Linked DNA regions of Homo sapiens: region 1 is linked to region 2. Evidence: promoter capture Hi-C in human tissues and cell types (Jung and others, 2019). All regions are on one chromosome and are shown on one strand. Each heading gives the region's core, a stretch centred on a gene start or on the middle of the fragment in contact. The rest is flanking DNA. Distances are from core to core; before and after follow the strand shown. Region 1 has its middle 12 kb from the start of ACTR10. Region 2 holds the start of L3HYPDH (trans-L-3-hydroxyproline dehydratase).

Region 1 (4,091 bases), core at 592-3,091, 1.3 Mb before region 2:
TAAATGAAGCCATGAAAGAGAATAAGATAACTGAGGAAGCAAGTGTGGAGATGAGAAAAGAAGTGATCCCAAGACAAAATGGTAGAGAACAGTATATTAACATATTAAGAGATAGAATAGTAGACAACTCCAAAGAAATATCTATAAAATATGTGATAAACCAAAAAAGAGTAACGTTGTAGAAGCTAAGGGAAGAGAAAGTTTCAAGGAGAGAGCAGTCAACAGTTTGAAAATTTACAGAGAAGTCAAATAGGCTAAACACTGACCTATGTCCATTGGATTTAACAAACAAAGAAGAAACTGATGTGGTTGGCAAGAGCAATATTGGTCAAGTGGCAAAATCCAGACTGCAATAGGTTAAGGAATGATGGGAAGAAAGAAAGATGAGGCAATGAATGTAGACAACTCTTTCACAAAGATCAAATAGAAAAGAGATAGGGTGGCATCTAGAGGGGAAGATAAGGCTAAGGGAGGATTTTCTTTTTTTAAAAGATGCTGGTGAGAAACAGAAGGAGGCAGGTATAACTGAGGAAGCATGGCCACTGAGAAGGTGTGAGGGATGAGGCCCAGAGCTCAAGTGCAGGGATTGGCTCTGAATTGAAGAAGAGAAGCCTCTTCCCCTAGGATAATGAGAAGGACTTTCAAACATTTCTAAAAGACATGCACCCCACATCAACAATTTTTTTTTTTTTTGAGACGAAATCTCGCTCTTGTCACCTAGGCTGGAGTGCAATTGCGCAATCTCGGGTCACTGCAACCTCCATCTTCCAGGTTCAAGCGATTTTCCTGCCTCAGCCTCCCAAGTAGCTGGGATTACAGGCGCCTACCACCATGCCCGGCTAATTTTTGAATTTTTAGTAGAGATGGGGTTTCACCATGTTGGCCAGGCTGGTCTTTAACTCCTGACCTCAGGCCATCCGCCCGCCTCGGCCTCCCAAAGTGCTGGGATTACAGGCATGAGCCATCACGCCCAGCCCACGCCAACGATTTTTTATACAAAGCTTCTTGGTACTGGAGTTCCAAGTCAGGCATTTGGAACATTGTAAGATGTGACAAGCAAATCTTCTTTCTGGACTACACCACTCCACTAGCTTTGATCACTGCCACATCTCATACACTCAAAAATATCAAAAGTGAAAAATAAGATTTTAGAGCTGATTTGATTTTTATAAAAAACAACTTTGTTGACATATACTTTAAATATCATAAAATTCACCGGTTTTAAACATACAATTCAATGATTTTTAGTAAATTTACCGAGTTATACAACCATCACCATAATCCAGTTTTAGAACATGCCTATAACCCCACTAAGATCCCTAATGTCCACTTAGAATTAATGCCCATTCTCATTCCTGGCCCTAAGAAACTCTACTTTTTATCTGTATAGATTTGCCTTTTGTGGACAGCTCCTATAAATTGAATCATATATTATCTTCTGTATCTGGTGTCTTTCATTCAACATAATGATTTTGACATTCATCCAATGTCGTAGGGTATTTCAGCAGTTTGTTCCTTTTTGTTGCTGAATTGCTGAATAATATTCCATTGTATGGCTGTACCACATTGTCTTTATCCACTTTTCAGTTGAGGAACATATGCTGCTCTGCTTTTGCCTCCACCCTTGTCCCTGAATTACAGGGCATAGACTGACAGTTTTCTCTTTCCCTCTCGTGATGCCTGCTGACAGCGTTAGACAATACGGCAAATTATTTTCCGTAAGGATGTGTGACTAGGCTTTACCAATCTTTAACGACAAGTGAGAATATAGACATCATGGTAAGACTCAATCATTAGAGCAGTGCCTCTGAAATATTTCCAAACGACAGACGACTGTGGCAGAACCCTACATGCCATGGGATATATACCTCACACACTCCCAGTTGTTGCCACTACGGAAAACAGTACCACAAAATAGGAACAACAGCAATGACAATGATGACCACAACAAAACCTCCCGGAAAATAATGGGGAAAATTGGGTTCTTTTAGGTATGCTCTTCTTGGACAACCCCAATGAGAAAAATCACATCAAAATTTCTTATACCAAAATAGTAATGAAAATGTTATCCTGATATAAATATTGGCTGATACACACTGATGCCTATGGACAACAAACAATCCTCTCAGAACATACTTTGAGTACTGCTGTTCTACCCTACATAGTGTACTTGAAGGTAAGGATTATTATAAAGTGAATATATATCCCAACATGTGAGTCAGACTTGTTAGTCACATATTTTGTTTTTTAACCTTAATTTTTAATTTTTTTATTTTTATTATTCTTTTTACTTTTTTAAAAAAAGCTTTAACTTTTTCTTTTGTTGTATTCTTTTTTGATTATATATTTCCAGAGGTGAGTGCATTTTTTAACTTATTTTTAAATACATAAACATATAGATACTAGTGTAATAAACCCCCAAATAGCCATCACCCAGGCCAACAGCCATCAACCTATGGCCCATCTGCCCCATCTGCAAACTCACTAACCTCTCTCTCCACATTATTTTGAAGTAAATCTCAGGCATGATATCATTTTCCCATAAATATTTCATCATGCAATTCTAAAAGAGAGTTCTTTCCTAATAATATAACCATAATACCATTATCACATCTAAAATATTTTAACAGTATTTGCTTAGTACAAAATTTGCAATCAGTGTTTCTGTTACTTGAATTTCTTTCTTGGAGAAATAAACCCTATTGGTAAAATGACCTCTGTCTGATAAGGCCTTTGAAAAGAAGGGCTCAATGCATGTCCTGATAGAGTGTACATGATAACATTTCTTTACATCTAAATCATCTAAGTAATCTTTTCAGGCTGGGATTGAAAGGACTGAAGGGAATATAAAAATAAGCTTGGAAAACGTATGCCATATGGACATTAAAGGATTACTCCCTTCTTTCTGGCTATGAAATGACTAATTAACTATTTGCAGCTGAAATGTGTGGGATCGTTTTCAGAAAATGGAATATCCTTCTCTCACTGAGCATATTGATCAGAGACATAATCTAGACTGTCTGGGAATACTTTTTCTGTAGCAGAACAAATCACACCCTTCAATGCACTGTTTAATTTTAGATATATCTTGTCACATTTATTTAAATGGTTTGGCTCCAGATTTTTTTTTCCCTTTAGGAGTGCCTGATGAACACATGTATAATTTAGCTGTCATTTTTTTTTTTCAGAAGGCAATGTGGGGTAATAGGAAGAGCAAGTCCAAATTTTGTCACACACTAGCAGTATGACCTCATACAAGTTACTTAACCTCTATGAGCAGGAGATTTTTTTCATATGTTGATAAATAAAGATTTGCAAGGATTAACTGAGATACCAGACTTAGCACTCTGCCAGCACACACTAGACAAGAAATCATTGCTGGATGGGCATGGTGGCTCATGCCAGTAATCCTAGCACTTTGGGAGTCTGAGGCGGGCGGACCACTGGAGGCCAGGAGTTTGAGACCAGCCTGGCCAACATGACGAAACCGCGTCTCTACTAAAAATACAAAAATTAGCTGGGAGCGGTGGCACACATCTGTAATCCCAGCTACTCGGGTCACTGAGGCAAGAGAAGCACTTGAACCTGGGACGCGGAGGTTGCAGTGAGCCGAGACTGCACTCCAGCCTGGGCAACAGAGCGAGACTCTGTCACAGAAAGAGAGAGAGAGGGAGAGAGGGACAGGGGGAGAGAGGGAGAGGGGGAGGGAGGGAGGGAAGGAAGGAAGGAGGGAAGGAAGGAAGGAAGGAAGGAGAGAGAAAGAAAGGAAAGAAAGAAGGGAAAGAAAGAAAGAAAGAAAGAAAGAAAGAAAGAAAGAAAGAAAGAAAGAAAGAAAGAAAGAAAGAGAGAAATCATTGCTTTTGTTAACAAAATAGGAATTTTCTATAATAAATATGTATAATTTGGCCAAGCACGGTGGCTCATGCCTGTAATCCCAGAACTTTGGGAGGCCAAGGCGGGTGGATCACTTGAGGTCAGGAGTTACAGACCAGCCTGTCCAACATGGTGAAACCCCATCTCTACTAAAACTATAAAAATTGGCCGGGCACGGTGGCTCACGCCTGTTATCCCAGCACTTTGGGAGATCGAGA
Region 2 (4,043 bases), core at 166-2,665:
GAGATGCCCTGCTTTACATGATAAGCTGTACAAGGATCTGTACTAGAGAATCCAGCAAAACCTTTTAATGGCTCAATAGGCCTAGGGAACTTTAGCGATCATATAAACCTTGCAATCTATCTCCAGGAATACAGTATCTTGCATACTCTCATTTAATCCTAACAAAAAAACTCTATGAGGGAAAAGAAGAAACACAGGCACAGAGAGATTAAGTAATTTGCCTAAGGTTGCACAGCTTTAGGGGGTTATCAGGATTTGAAACCAGGCAATGTGTGTTCCTGTTCTTAAAGAAAAGCAACATTCGTATCTTAATGATTTATAAACTGCTTTGTTCATTCATTCTCATTTAATTCTTCAAAGAAGTGGGGGAGGTGAGGAAAGGAGACCAGGTTTAGTAACTTATTAAGTGTGATTCTGTGTCTACCAAGCATATTCTCAGCCAGCCTGGAACCCTGGTACATTGGCTGTTCTTCGCTCTTTCCTTGACCCCACCGTACCTTGCTTTATCCACCGGTGAAATCTCTAGGAATGCCTCACCAGTGCAGAGGGAGGCGCTGAGTCAGGGTAACACGCAATTCCTCGCTCCTCAAGGGTCTCCCAAAACCACAGGCGGATGGGAGTCAGGGAAAATCGAAATTACACGCACCAAATACGCAAGGCTGCTGACACACGTTGGCAGTGATTTACCTTTCTATTAATTGCAAGGTTTCGCGGAGTAGGTTAGTTGCCAGAGTTCCAGCCCAGAAAAACCGTTAATGTAGTTAGTCGCGTCCCGGTTGCAGCTCTGCCCTGGGCTGGAAAGGTCCCGCCCATTACCTGTGGCCAGCACGAAGGCCGGGACGCTGTGGAAGCGCACCGGTCCGTGGCTGCGGCCGTCCTCGCATGCCACGAAGGCGGTCACCAGCCCGCAGGGGCAGTGGATATTGACGCGGGCCTCGCGGGTGCCCGCAGGGGGCGCCGGCACAAGCCCGAAGTCCAAAGCGAAGCGGCCCAGCGCCAGCACTGCGTGGCCGCACATGGAGCTGTAGCCCTCGTTGTGCAGGAACAGGACGCCCAGATGCGCGTCCGGCAGCTCGCTCGGGACTAGGACCGCCCCGTACATGTCCCGGTGCCCTCGGGGCTCGAACATGAGCCGTCGCCGCACGTGGTCAAGGTGCTGGCGCATGTAGCGCCGCTTGGCCAGCAGGGTGGGCCCAGACACCTCCGGACACCCCGCCAGCACGATACGCAAGGGCTCGCCGCCCGTGTGCATGTCCACCACCGACAGCACCGGCGTCCCTGGATCATGCGGGGGCAGCCGGGGCACCGCCAGCGCGCTCTCCATGGTCTGCGTCGGGGGAGACGAGTACGGTCCCGCAGCTATGGCTTCAAGCCCGACCCTCACCCACTGACTCCGCGGGAGGAGGGCGGGACGCTAACCAGCCACGTCCGGGGGGCGGGGTCTCGGAGCCTAAACCCGGAAGCGAGGGAGGAACTTCGGAGCTGTCGCCCGGGTTACCGGGAGGCGGAGCCGCCGAGCTCGCTGTGGCCCGGATGTTCGGTGCAGCTGCCAGATCCGCTGATCTAGTGCTTCTCGAAAAAAACCTTCAGGCGGCCCATGGGTGAGTGGTCGCCAAGATCCCGGGAAGCGTTTCTGGTAGTCCCGACTACTTTCCTACACGGCTGGCCTCGGGCTCGGCTCTTTGTAGGCGGCCTTCGGTTGGCGGCGCAGGCTCGCCCCTTGACCCCGCCCGCCCTCGGGCCGGGCTCCGCACTCCTGCGGGGTTGGGGTGGTCTGTCCGCAACGGGCTACTAGGGGAGGCGCGCTGTCTGCGGCGAAATGCCAGGTCTTTGTTGTTTGGTCCGAAATGTCTCTTCAGTCCCTTAGTTTAATGTCGAGGGAACACTTGCTTGAGGGTTGACTTCGGAATTGAAAACGCGGGTGATAGTGCAGAAAAAACAGTAAAGCAGAAGCAAGTTGCTGCATAATTTGTCTACTGCTTCAACCTCAAACGTAGATTTATAGCGCCCGTCACAAAGGGCAGGACCGCTGCAAAAAAATGGAATCTTAAAACTTTAGCCATCGTTCGCTAAAGGAAATGAAAGGAGAAATTCAACAGTCGCTTGGAGCCTGGGTTTTGCTTAGTAAGTGATAGGCTGTTTATTTCAGTTCAGTTTATCATACTGGTTTTCAGGCCTTGGATTTTGAGAAACTTTAGATTATTGATATTCACGTGTATTTATTAAGCATCTACTAGATGTAAAGCCCATACAGAAGTTTCCAATTCCTTACCTTCTGCATTCTTGAAAAACCTGAAATATTCATTTTCATGTATTAATTTAGAACATTGTGATTACAATTGGTTACAAAAAAAATAAGCGCCCATTAAAGAGGCCAGTGGGTTTAAAAAGCTAAGTCCGAAATTTGTTAAAAGCGAAAATATTAAACTGGAGGAATATTATTCAATGCTGTTTCTCTTTTTCTCTCAGCAGCATAAGGAGAAGGAAGTAAAAAGTCTGCTTGAATGTGAAAGGAGAGAAGGCACTGTAGACCAGGCAGTCTAGATTGTGAATTCGTGAATAATTTGGGAAATGATTGTTCAAGAATAGTCAAAAGATGCATAATTTTTCAAATTAATTCACATGTAGACCGCAGTTTGTTTTGAGACGGAGTCTCCTTCTGTAGCCCAGGCTGGAGTGCAGTGGCGCGATCTCGGCTCACTGCAACCTCTGCCTCCTGGGTTCAAGCGATTCTCCTGCCTCAGCCTCCCCAGTAGCTGGGACTACAGGCGCGCGCCACCACGTCAGGCTAATTTTTGTATTTTTAGTAGAGACGGGGTTTCACCATTTTGGCCAGGCTGGTCTGGAACTCCTGACCTCATGATCTGCCCACCTCGACCTCCCAAAGTGCTGGGATTACAGGCGTGAGCCACCTCACCGAGCCTGTTTGTTTGTTTTAATCAATGAATGAATGAAGGGAATCAGATGTCACTGATGAAGAAAACTTCCATAATTTCTTGTGAATAAGGTCAAAGACAACGTATTAGGTTCTTAGTTGTTGGGGTTTTTTTAAGTAAGGAATAGCTGCTTTTCCCCTAAGCCTTTAGATCAGGGGCTTAATTTTAATGCAGTGGTTTCTAAAATATTGGCCCAGTGACAGCCTTGATGAAATTTTCACTTATCCTCCACAAAAATGATAAAAGCTAGGACAATGTAGGAAACTTTTTATAAAGGTAATTTGCATACCTCTGTTATGAAATTATGTTCTCTCTGCTTTTCCCATGTGAAAATGTGTTCTGTTATGAACATAGGTGATAATGATAATTGTGTGTCTACATGTGGGTGCTTAATGTCCTGACTGGGCAAAATACAAGGTGGTGACCCTCTACTGGTGCTCTAATTTAAAAATATATGTATATTTGAACTTTATAATCAGTTAAACTCAGAAGTATCCTCTAATCATACCGGGTTAGGCTTTGAGTCCTGGAGATAGATCCTGCTCTGCTGGTTGAGGACCTTAATCATAAGGCACGGTATTAACAGCAAGGTTCCAGGATAACTGTCTGCAGTGTCACAGTGTAAAAGGAGAAATGTAAATTTAAAAATGCTTCAAGACTTTTGTCTAATACATATTATTCAAAAATTTGAAACTGTTATTTTTGCCAAATGCTTCAGCTATTATTGCAATTATTTTTTATAATCACAAAAGATGTTACTATACTGGCATTTGTTTTTAAAAAGCTGTCGATATTCAACCAGCATGCCTTGGACTTTATTGTGGGAAGACCCTATTATTTAAAAATGGCTCAACTGAAATATATGGAGAATGTGGGGTAAGTCTTATGTTTGTATCTTATTTCATTTTGTAAAATCTATTTGCTTTTGAAATATTTTCACATACAACATTTTTTGTTATTATACTCATTAATTTATAAAAGAATATGGAGGACCAGGCGCAGTGGCTCATGCCTGTAATCCCAGCACTTTGGGAAGCCTAGGTGGGTAGATCACTTGAGGTCAGGAGTTCGAGACCAGCCTGACCAATATGGTGAAACCCCATCTCT

What was found. The method cuts DNA at HindIII sites, captures the fragments that hold promoters and counts their contacts. A contact is called where the count stands out against the background at its distance.
Region 1: a contact is called between a fragment that was not itself captured here and the fragment with the promoter of L3HYPDH in region 2, in 1 of the 25 tissues and cell types used here (dorsolateral prefrontal cortex).

Annotation. Positions count from the first base shown.
Region 1 is chr14:58,186,371-58,190,461 of GRCh38, forward strand. No RefSeq gene overlaps it. Among named protein-coding and RNA genes, the nearest start is that of ACTR10, 12 kb to the right of the region's middle. The HindIII fragment of the contact is 4,169 bases long and covers 1-3,926 here.
Region 2 is chr14:59,482,993-59,487,035 of GRCh38, forward strand. L3HYPDH (trans-L-3-hydroxyproline dehydratase) reads right to left here and starts at 1,416. Exons shown (of 5, transcript NM_144581.2): 1 at 817-1,416. The coding sequence starts at 1,324. It overlaps JKAMP (JNK1/MAPK8 associated membrane protein), which reads left to right and starts at 1,525. Exons shown (of 7, transcript NM_016475.5): 1 at 1,525-1,601; 2 at 3,721-3,812. The coding sequence starts at 1,598. RefSeq lists an enhancer at 1,491-1,770. The HindIII fragment of the contact is 11,286 bases long and covers 1-4,043 here.